Regions from separate parts of the Homo sapiens genome. Here regions 2, 3 and 4 are each linked to region 1. The links are contacts of gene promoters, found by promoter capture Hi-C in blood cells and fetal thymus (Javierre and others, 2016). All regions are on one chromosome and are shown on one strand. The core of a region is centred on a gene start or on the middle of the fragment in contact, and the rest is flanking DNA. Distances in the headings are between cores, read along the strand shown. Region 1 holds the start of TRAM2 (translocation associated membrane protein 2). Region 2 has its middle 25 kb from the start of PAQR8. Region 3 overlaps PAQR8 (progestin and adipoQ receptor family member 8). Region 4 overlaps PAQR8 (progestin and adipoQ receptor family member 8).

Region 1 (2,709 bases), core at 1-2,500:
GTTCCTCACAAGACGAAGGTTCAACTTTGAGAAAGGTCAGCCTTGAAGTTAAATGAGGTTTAGTCCAATCTAGGCATTACTTTGTCATTTCCTTGAGAGTCAGATAAGGGAATTACAGACCCAAGACTGTATTTTAAGTAAGGTGGAGTGCAGATTGAGGAAGTAAAATTTCTCTAGGAACTCCATCCTGTCTCAATTACATTCCACCGCGTGCCACTTTTAAAAAACCATATTTATTTAGAAGTGAAATAACTGTGGACCTAATAAAAAATGGAATAGGAATTAGTTTTTTTTGTTCATTACGTATTTCTGCACATCTAGAAAGTAACTGACTGCTTCATTACTGGTAGGATTAAATCCAATATTTGCGAATATAATTTATTAAGAACACCTTTTGTCCTTCCAGGAGTACTTTTAAGACTTAATATTAAATAGAAACTTTCAGTGAGAAAGTTCCTTCCTTTTTTGCTTCTTCTGTGTTTATTCTTCCACTTCTTCTGATTAATATGTAAGGTAGACTTTCGGTGAAATGTGTGTAGCTAATTAATGGTGGCATGAGGGTCCCAAAAATTACTGGGCAAAACTGCAATCATCCACCCTCTCCCCGCATTGGAGCGAAAGCTCCCCTAGGGCAGGGTCTTTCGGTTTGTTGATCTACCTGAACTGTGCCTAGCCCACTGCAAGTTCTCGATAAATACTTGAGTAATCTCCATTCACTGATCGTCCGTGCAGGGCGCTGTGGCCAGCCAGAAGGCCGGTTCGCGGCTTCCCTGCTTCCGCCGCACCCGCGCCGCCCTCAGCCCCCGGGGCCACAGCCCGCAACCCCGGGAGCATCCGGCTGCCCGGCCACCCCCGGGGCGCTCGCTGCCTCCGGGGCCTGCCCTTCCCGCGGAGGAAGGAGCGGAGCGAGGAGTGGGAAAGCTGGGCCCACTTCCTGTCCGGGCAGGCCTGGGCGCCCGCCTCCTCCGCGGCCTGCTTTCTCCACCGCGAGCGGCTGAGCCTCGGGCCCCGAGAATGCGGCCGGGCGCGGCGCTGGCGCGGGACGAGGAGGAGCCGAGCCCCGCTCGCCGCCCCCGTACGCCTCCGCCCCGGTAGCCCGCGCGTGCCCAGCGGCTAGAGGGTTAAGCCCGCGGGGGGCGGGGCCAGGCGCGCCGAGTGCGGGCCGCGGGCTGGGCGGGGGCTGGGCGGGGGCTGCGGCCGGGGGCGGTTACGGGCGGCCGGGGGCGGGCGGAGGAAGGGGGCGGGCCCCGAAGTTGTTCCGCGCTGGGCGGGCGAGCGGCTGTGGGAGAGCGGGCGGCGGGCCGGCGGGCGGACCGGGCCGGTGCTGGAGAAGTTTGCGCTGCGGTTCGTGAGCGCAGGGTGCGGGCCCCGCCGGCCGCTGCGCGCCCGCTGCCATGGCTTTCCGCAGGAGGACGAAAAGTTACCCGCTCTTCAGCCAGGAGTTCGTCATCCACAACCATGCGGACATCGGCTTCTGCCTGGTGCTCTGCGTCCTCATCGGGCTTATGTTCGAGGTGAGAGCCTGGGGAGGAGGGAGCTGGAGGGACAGTGCCCCCTGTCGTGCACCGCCCGGCACACCCCTGCAGGTCAGCGGGCCCTCCTCTGATCGGAGGCTCCTGGCTGCCGTGTACGTTATCTGCACCCCGGCTTTGTGCACTGTACCCCTCCGGCCTGTACCCCGGCCAGCCCAGACAGCACCCCCAGCTCCGCGCCGTGCCAGCCATGCCATGCTCTGCCGCCCCCTTGGGCACTCATCGTATCCTGCAGCTCTGTCTGCAGCCCTGAAACCCCAGCCTGGCCTCGAACCAACCGCCGCGCTGCCACCATGGCTTGACGCGTGGGGTTCCCTTTCTGGCGTCCAGGAGCCAAGCCCAGAGACTCCCAGACCCGCAGTCATTGCACAACCCCCTCTTGCCCCAAGGGGTGGCCACTAGCTCTTCTGGGCTTTTCCAGTGGGAGAGACCCAGAACCTTTTCCACTTCCTATGTGATTTTCTGGGTGTTTTGCATCTCAGCTCTGGAACGTGCTCGGATGTTCACGTGTGGCCCTGGCCCCATCCCAGCAGTGGCCTTCTGCTCTCGTCTCGCTCCCACTTTTTTGCTGTGCTCTAGAAGGCCAATTTTTGGATATCCTTTACCACTCCGTGAACTGTCCCTTTAGATCCATCTGCGGCGACCCAGAGCTTCACCCCCTTTACAGAGACAAGAAGAGAGACAGGGATACCCTCCACTTTTTGGGGAAAGTTGATTCTCTTATAGTGTAGGAGTGGGGGGCAGAGGATGGGGATCCCACCCCCAACAGCAATGTCCTGGTGTCGGCCTCCCAGGCAGGGAGTTGTAGAAAGCCAGCAAGGGGTCAGAATTCACAAGACTGATGGGAAGGATTCCCTACTCTTGCAGAGCAAGAAAAATGTGATATTCAAAAGTGGGAAGAACTGGAGGAAGCTTGGCATGGGTTTGTTGCGGTATATCTTGTCTCAGAAGTGAGATATGTGAGCGACATTCCCCTCACTCTCACCGTGGTCTCCTCTGGTTCCTGAGACTCCTTGTCCTCCCTTCTGCGTCAGCTTGCTTATTGCATTCTCACGGTTGGGTTAGGAAGCTGTGATCATTTACAAACTTCCTTGGAGATGGAGGATGGCTTGCCTGGCTAAATTTCCTTCCCTGTCCCTCTGTCTCGGGTTCCCTGTATCTCTACGAATGACAAGGG
Region 2 (2,709 bases), core at 155-2,654, 240 kb after region 1:
AAGAGGACAATGCTATTATTGAATTTGAGGACTTAAACAGAACAAGAAGAGAAGGGAGTAAGATGGAGATTTATCTGAAGTTCCCATAGGAAATCCTCATGGAGTTGCCTACCTGGAGCTCAAGACAAGGCCCGAGACATAGATTGGGACCTAATCTACCTAGAAGTAGAGGAGATTTACAGCTGTGGGAATGGATGACACATTTGTGTTTGCAGCAGTAGGTGACCATTTCCTCCTACGTGCCTGCTCAAAGGCTTTCAAATTGCCACTGAAACTCCTTAAGCTTACAGAGTCTTTCATGGTTTAGCTCTTGCTTACCTCTCTAGATTCTTGATTGACCTTCTCCCTAGAACACTATTACACTTCTTACAGGTCTCCAAAAATGCCATGTGCTATTTTCTCTAAGCCTTTGCTTACCATTTCTCACTGCATGAAACATTCTTCACCCCTCCCCTTATCATTGCCTGGCCTTGTATCTTTTGGGTCTCCATGTAGATTATACACTCTGGAAAGCCTTCCATGACACCAACTTAGATTGTCCCCTCTATGGGCTTTAAGAGCGTGTGGTACAGCCCCTTTCTGTAGTTCCAATAGCACTGTATTGTCATTACCTACTTACTTTTCTCTTATGAAACTATAAGCTTCTTGAAGATAGGGATGGTGTCTAGCCACTTTCTTAGCACAGTGTTTAGTAAATGGAAGATGCTTAGTAAGCATTTGTTAAATGAATGAGGAGTGAGTGTTAACTTATTTCTCTCTCAGTTCAAACTCCTTTGCTTCTAAGTGTCAGAAAGCCCAATCCAAAGAGCTTAAGCAAAAAGAGGAATTCGCGGCTCATATAAGCAAAGAAGTCTAGAGGAGTGTCGTGCCCATCATTGAACCAATCGTTGTTCTTTCAGGAGAATGCAAGGCTCTGATTGGCCAAACCTGGGTCACATGTCACCCCCATTTCTGCTGTCCCAAGACCACTCAGGCTGGGGATGAGGGATGGTGCTGGAAGTGGGAAGGGGCGGGGTCTCCAAACTACAGTCCTGAACTTTCCCTGGAATTTTGGTGAGGGGATCCTGGGTAACCCTCAAAAACAAATTTCTATTAAGTAATGCCTACAATTCAGGGGGATAGGGATAACACAGATCCAGCAAAGAAATTCTAGGTTAAGCAGTCTGAGAAATGGGCAAAGAGCTAAGAATGTATAGTGTCATGCAAGGAAAGGTGACTAATATTTGTTTAGCACTGACCATGTGACAGGAGCTTTTCACACGATATATCATTTAACCCTCACAATAACTCTCAAATACATAGTTATTCCCAGTTAACAGAATCTTAGGGTAAACTGAGTCTCAGAGGGAATATGTAACTCACTTAGGCCACACAGTTCCTGGTGTCAAAAAAGGTTAGGGACTGCTTCATTAAAGGAACAAGGCTTTATTCATTTTTGTCTCCAGCGTAGGAAAGGGCCTTACTCATACTGTTCATCACTAAATATTTGTTAAATTAATGAATGAATAATTAATTGCATGAGCAAAAGATGAAAAACTGTATCCCAGGAAGAAATGAAGGTAGAGAAAGAACAGTAGGGGTGGGTTAGATTCAAACATGTTTTTAGGGCAGGTGGAAAGAGGTTGAAAATGAAAGAAAATGTTGATGATGAAGCAATGTTCCCTATGCAGTTCAAATTCTAGGAAAAAGCCTTAGATAAAAAATTTCAATATTTCTTCCCCCAGAGTGAGAGAGAGAGAGAAAAGTATGGCCTTGGGAGAGTCTGGGGTAGAGGGAAGAAAACCAAAAGCATTCTTTTCAGCTTCCTCGGTCTTCACTGTGAAAAAGTAAAGGTTCTCATTTCTACAACTGTGTCGAGTATACGCTGACCTGATGTTTTAATTCATGGCTCATCCTCACAGTACCAAGCATAGAATAGATGCTAAAATAAATGTATAAACTCACTGGGTTGAACTGAATGAAATCAAATTATCTTTTAGAAAAATTTGAATGTAGCCTTCAGAAAGGGCAGCTACCTATAAGCCTAATTTGATGGCTTGCCAGGACTTTGGTAGGTGCTGTGGGAAGATGGAGGAAGGCAGTACAATGTGCCCATGTTATCTGTTCTACAGAATATCTTTGCTGGGCAAATATCTCCTTATCATTTTCCTTTTTCAATGCAAGCTTCCACCCTACTTCTTCAGGACACCTGGGCTTGGGCAGTGATTACTAGGTTGACTGTTTGTAATAACAGGTCTGTCTTGGGAAATTATAGGCTGTGAGGTCTCAGAGGTTAGCAATCAGAAGAGATTTACTAAGCCTTCTCTGACCAGTTCCAGGGCTGTCCTCCTTAGCAGACTGACTCAGCCAGCAGTGCCACCTGTGAAACAGGTGGCAAGGCTGGTCACACTGCCTCTTTCCACATGCTATTCTGTCCACTCCCTAAGGGTCCCTGACACCAGCTGAGAGAGTGAAGCCTTGGCCTGCTGGGGATGCCTCCAGCTGCAGAAGGCAGCCTGACCTTGAATTCAAGCAGGCTTTAAATTCTTCGCCTCACAGAATGAGGTAACAGAAAGATGGATGATTACTGATTAGAACACTGTGACCTAAAAAAATTAAGTAATCCACAGTGAAAACTCATTCCCCTGTCTCTGTTTAGTCTCTGACAGGAATAAAGGATGGGATAAAGGGTAGGATAGGGAATGGGGTGGTGGCATCAGAGAGCCCCCT
Region 3 (2,709 bases), core at 75-2,574, 190 kb after region 1:
TGTGGCCTTTTCTGTAATTAGAAGTAGTAATTAATAATCAGTTGCAGAGAAGTGAGCCAAGATTGTGCCACTGCACTGCAGCCTGGGTGACAGAGTGAGACTCCGTCTCAAAAAAAAAAATCATTAGTTATTCCATAGAAGAGCTTCATTTGAAAAGTCAATCTACTCAGTTCAGATCAGTAATTGTAAACTATCACAAAGCTACAGCTTTCATCTCCATGATATTACAATTACCTACCTGCCTAACCTGTAGTATCTACAAAGGTTGTGATTGTTTATCACTCAGAATTACTTCATTTTAAAAATTTTTCAACTTTTCTTTTCTATTCAGGAGGTATATGTGCAGGTTTGTTACAAGAGTATATTGCATGATGCTGAGGTTTGCGGTATGACTGAGTCCATCATCCAGGTAGTGAGCATAGTACCCAACAGGTAGTTTTTCAACCTTGCCCCGGTCCCTCCTTCTCCCTTCTTGTAGTCCTGTGTCTATTTTTCCCTTCTCTATGTCCATGTATACCCAATGTTTAGCTCTTACTTATAAGTAAAAACATGTGGTATTTGGTTTTCTGTTTCTGCATTAATTCACTTAAGATAATGTTGCTGCAAATTCTGTTTTACAGCTCCACAGTATTCCATTATGTGTACATACCACAATTTCTTTATTCAATTCACTGTTGATGGGCACTGAGGTTCATTCCTAGGTTGATCTTTGCTATTTTTGAATAGTGCTGTGATGAACATATGAGTACATGTGTCTTTTTGGTAGAACAATTTGTTTTCCTTTGAGTACATACCCAGTAATGTGGTTGCTAGGTCAAATGGTAGTTGTGTTTGGTTCTCTGAGAAATCTCCAAACTGCTTTCTTCAGTGGCTGAAATTAATTTACATTCTCACCAACACTGTATAAACGTTCCCTAACCTCTGCAGCCTCACCAACACCTGTTATTTTTTTTTAATTTAAATAATAGCCATTCTGACTGGTGTGAGATAGTATCTGGTTGTAGTTTTGATTTGCATTTCTCTAATGATTAGTGATGTTGAGCATTTTTTCATATGTTTTTGGCCACTTGTCTGTCTTCTTTTGAGAAGTGTCTGCTCATTTCCTTTGCCCACTTTTTAATTGAGTTGTTTTTTGCTTGGTGATTTAAAGTTCCTTATAGATGCTGGATATTAGACCCCTGCATAATGTATGAATATTTTCTCCCATTCTGTAGGTTGTCTGTTTCCTCTGTTGAAAGTTTCTTTTTTGTTTTGAGACAGGGTCTCACTCTGTCACCTAGACTGGAGAGCAGTGGTGTGATCATGGCTCACTGTAGCCTCAACCTTTCCAGGCTCAGGTGATCCTCCCACTTCAGCCTCTCAAGTAGCTGGGACTACCTGCGCACACCAGATGCCCAGCTAATTTTTTGTATTTTTTTGTAGAGAGTGGGGTTTCACCATGTTGCCCAGGCTGGTCTCAAACTCCTGGGCTCAGGCAATCTACCCACCTTGCCCCCCAAAGTGCTAGAATTCCAGACATACGCCATGGTGCATGGCCAATAGTTTTCCTTTTGCTTTGCAGAAGCTCTTTAGTTTAATTAGGTCTCACTTGTCAATTTTTTGTTTTTGTTGCAGATGCTTTTGAGGACTTAGTTATAAATCTTCCCCAAGGCCTATGTCGAGAAGGGTACTTCCTAGATTTTCTTGAAGGATGTTTATAGTTTGAGGTCTTACATTGTATTAGTCTATTTTCATGCTGCTGACAAAGACATACCTGAGACTAGGTAATTTATAAAGTAAAGAGGTTTAACTGACTCACAGTTCCACATGGCTGGAGAGGCCTCACAATCATGGCAGAAGACGATGGAAGAGAAAAGGGATGTCTTATATGGCAGCCAGTAGAGAGAGAATGAGAGGGGTTTCCCCCTCTCAAGTGAAAGGGGTTTCCCCTAATAAAACCATGAGATCTTGTGAGACTTATTCACTACCACGAGAACAGTATGGGGGACACTGCCCCCATGATCCAATTATCTCCCAACGGGTCCCTCCCACAACACGTAGGCATTATAGGAGCTACAATTCAAGATGAGATTGGGTGGGGACACAGCCAAACCATATCATACATTTAAGTCTTTAATCCATTGTGAGTTAATTTTTGTATATGGTGATAGGTAGGAGACCAGTTTCATTCTTCTGCATATGGTTGGCCAGTTTTCCCAGCACCATTTATTGAATAGGATATCCTTTCCCCATTGTTTATTTTTGTCAACTTTATCAAAGATCAGTTGATTGTAGGCGTGCAGCTTTATTTCTGGGTTCTCTATTCCATTGGTCTGTGTGTCTTTTTTTGTACCAGTACCATGCTACTGTAGCCTTTTGGTTACTATAGCCTTGTAGTATTTTGAAGTTGGGTAATGTGATGCCTCTGGCTTTGTTCCTTTTGCTTAGGATTGCTTTCACTATTTAGGCTCTTTGTTTCCATATGAATTTCAGAATAGTATTCTTTTTCTAACTTAGAATTATTTTAGCTCCAAGATTTCAGGTTTGAAATTCCTCCTCCTTGATTACAACACTCCTAACTTCCACCTGTAATATTTCATCACACCTGCTAAAGATACTTTTTGGGTGTCTCATAACCTCTAGTCTCTCAACTCTTCTTCTCTCAGTGACCCATTGCATTTGGACTCACTGCCATCCCAATACAAACCCAACCCAGTGCTAGCCATTTCA
Region 4 (2,709 bases), core at 56-2,555, 170 kb after region 1:
AAAGGAAAAGGAGTATTCCTTTTATTAACAACAACAAAACTCTTAAATCCTTTGGCTTTCAAACACTGCAGCTATAACATATCCTTGGATATATGTATTAATTTAAAAGCCAATGCCTTAAAAGTCAGCTTCTATTGTATCAAGTTTTCTCCAAATTATGAGGGGCTTCCTCCACACGTTGCCCCACTTGCCAGCCTCAGGAATCTTTCTTGGTCAGTCTGGCCTTGACTTTGTGCCTCAGAAGGGCTGCGGTGGCAGCACTGCAGGCAGCCAGGAAGAAGAAGGAGAGGCAGGCCATGTGGACAGATAGGGGTCCATGGCGCTGCAGGAAGATCTCCTGCCGCCCCTGGTAGTCCAGGAGGATGGCCTCCAGCTGGGAGAGCGTACAGATGGACAGAAATGCATGGAAGATCTGATGCCCATGGCCCACGATGTCACAGGAACCCGGGAAGTACTTCTCAGGCACGGGGCAGGAGAAGAAATAAGCGCTAACCAGGAAGAAGAGGATCTGGAGGGTGTGGTACCAGGCTGCTTGCTCCTGGCAGCCAGCCAGGTGACAGAGCGCCACACGGTGTGCCACAGGGCTGATGTCTAGGATAAAAGCCAGACCTGCTGGCACCACTTGACAGATCTTCCTCATGACTGGATAAGGCCTCCGGTAACGATATTTGGCATAGCAACAGCCAGCACAAGATAACCAGCCACAGAAGGCAGCTGCTGGCAAGAAGAAAAGCCAGAACCGGTCATACCAGGCCTGGTCAGAGCTGTAGAAGAAATGAGCCAAAGCACTGCCATATTGGTAAACGCTCACGCCAACATAGTCCACAAAGTAGAAGGTGTAGTGGGAGAGCTCTGACTTGGACTGCAGCAGGTGGGCCAGAAGGCTGCAGGTGAGGTAAGTGATTGACGACAGGATGAAGAGGAGCAGAGGCAGGGAGTGGGTAGACGCCCATGGCAAGGCCTCAGCCTCGGCAAAGGCCCAGAATCGCAAGAGGACGGCCAGGGCTGCCAGTAAATGGGTCCAGACGTTGACCACCTCGTTGTGTTTCTGAAAGAGGCTGAAGAAGTAGTAGCGCCACTCGTGCCCCGTGGGGCGGTAGCCGGTGCGGATGTAAGGCTCCCGGAAGAGCTGGGGCACATCCGTTTCTGGGACAGTGCAAGGCATCTTGGGAAGCCCATCCTCCAGGATCTTGGGCAGGCGGCGCAGCTGCTGCCCGCTGACCGACAGGGTGCTCAGGCGCTCCAAGATGGCGGTCGTCATGGCAGCGGCCCGCATGCACTCCGTGCCGCGCCCTCAGGACAGGGTATGCAACCTGCAGAAAAGAAAGGAAAATTGGCAAAGCCGCAGTGAGACACGAATGCAGCTAAGACGGACAAGGAACTATGGCTATTTTCTTTTCTTTTGAGACGGGGTATCACTCTGTCGCCCAGGCTAGAGTGCAGTGGCACGATCACAGCTCATTGCAACCTCTAATTCCTGGGCTCAGGTGATCCTCCAGAGTAGCTAGGACCATAGATGCACGCCAACACGCCCGGATAATTTTTTGTTGCTGCTGTTGTTGTAGAGACAGGGGTGTCGCTATGTACAGCAGGCTGGGCCCAAACTCCTGGGCTCAAGCACTCCTCCCTCCTCAGCCTCCCCAAGTGTTGAGATTACAGGCGTGAGCCACCAGGCCGGCTAGGATCCGTGGTTATTTTAATGCAACGTGGCTTTCTGGTACAGTAGAGGAAGCAAGGAGCTGCAGACAGCTTCTTTGAGCCTCCTTTAATTCATCTGTAGAATAATGGAGTTGGACCAAGATCCCTTACTGTCCCAATATTCTTTTTTTTCTTTCTTTCTTTTTTTTTTTTTTTTTTGAGACAGAGTTTCACTCTTGTTGCCCAGGCTGGAATGCAATGGTACCATCTCGGCTCACCACAACCTCCGCCTCCCGGGTTCAAGCAATTCTCCTGCCTCAGCCTCCCAAGTAGCTGGGATTACAGGCATGTGCCACCACGCCTGGCTAATTTTGTATTTTCAGTAGAGATGGGGTTTCTCCATGTTGGTCAGGCTGGTCTGGAACGCCCGACCTCAGGTGATCCGCCCACCTCAGCCTCCCGAAGATTTTTTTTGAAACAGGGTCTTGCTCTGTCGCCCAGCTGGGATGCAGTGGCGCAATCTTGGTTCACTGCAACTTCCGTCTCCCGGGTTCAAGCAATTCTCCTGCCTCAGCCTCCCAAGTAGCTGGTATTACAGGCATGCACCACCACACCCAGCTAATTTTTATATTTTTAGTAGAGATGGGGTTTCACCATGTTGGCCAGGCTGGTCTCGAACTTCTAACCTCAAATGATCTTCCCACCTCATCCTCCAAAAGTGCTGGAATTACAGGCGTTAAGCCACCATGCCTGGCCTGTCCCAATATTCTATGTTTACTACACTCAGTGTGAGGCAAAGTTACATCTTGTAAAATGGAAATGTTAGCTACCCTAACATAATTTAGTGATACCAATGACTTAATGATTATCAAGATTTAATTATAAGTAAGGTAACCTTTAAAGGATATGGGCTTTTCTCGATATTAAAATGTAATAAACAGGCTTTAATAGCATGAAATATCATATTGAAGTATAAGAATTACAAATATTGATATAGCTAATGATAGACTGTATTTCTTTAGCACCTACCTAATCTTAAACTATCCACTAATTTCACTGGTACTTTGAAAA

The links. Contacts are between HindIII fragments. The CHiCAGO score rates a contact against its expected background, and 5 or more counts as called.
Region 2: a fragment that was not itself captured here is called in contact with the fragment with the promoter of TRAM2 in region 1 in 2 of 17 cell types (non-activated CD4 T cells and naive CD4 T cells); the score reaches 5.5 in non-activated CD4 T cells.
Region 3: a contact is called between a fragment that was not itself captured here and the fragment with the promoter of TRAM2 in region 1, in 4 of 17 cell types (naive CD8 T cells, non-activated CD4 T cells, total CD8 T cells and 1 more). The highest score is 6.8, in naive CD8 T cells.
Region 4: a fragment that was not itself captured here is called in contact with the fragment with the promoter of TRAM2 in region 1 in 10 of 17 cell types (non-activated CD4 T cells, naive CD8 T cells, endothelial precursors and 7 more); the score reaches 10.6 in non-activated CD4 T cells.

The regions. Positions count from the first base shown.
Region 1 is chr6:52,575,601-52,578,309 of GRCh38, reverse strand. It overlaps TRAM2 (translocation associated membrane protein 2), which reads left to right and starts at 1,250. Exons shown (of 11, transcript NM_012288.4): 1 at 1,250-1,514. The coding sequence starts at 1,395. TRAM2-AS1 (TRAM2 antisense RNA 1) reads right to left here and starts at 1,108. Exons shown (of 3, transcript NR_103446.1): 1 at 1-1,108. RefSeq lists a silencer at 678-1,537. The HindIII fragment of the contact is 3,868 bases long and covers 1-2,446 here.
Region 2 is chr6:52,335,356-52,338,064 of GRCh38, reverse strand. No RefSeq gene overlaps it. Among named protein-coding and RNA genes, the nearest start is that of PAQR8, 25 kb to the left of the region's middle. RefSeq lists a cis regulatory region at 863 and an enhancer at 779-948. The HindIII fragment of the contact is 1,522 bases long and covers 644-2,165 here.
Region 3 is chr6:52,384,430-52,387,138 of GRCh38, reverse strand. All of the region lies in intron 1 of PAQR8 (progestin and adipoQ receptor family member 8), which reads right to left. Among named protein-coding and RNA genes, the nearest start is that of PAQR8, 24 kb to the right of the region's middle. RefSeq lists an enhancer at 845-954. The HindIII fragment of the contact is 3,951 bases long and covers 1-2,709 here.
Region 4 is chr6:52,401,766-52,404,474 of GRCh38, reverse strand. It overlaps PAQR8 (progestin and adipoQ receptor family member 8), which reads right to left. Exons shown (of 2, transcript NM_133367.5): 2 at 1-1,313. The coding sequence starts at 1,261. The coding sequence ends at 197. Among named protein-coding and RNA genes, the nearest start is that of EFHC1, 17 kb to the left of the region's middle. The HindIII fragment of the contact is 3,631 bases long and covers 1-2,709 here.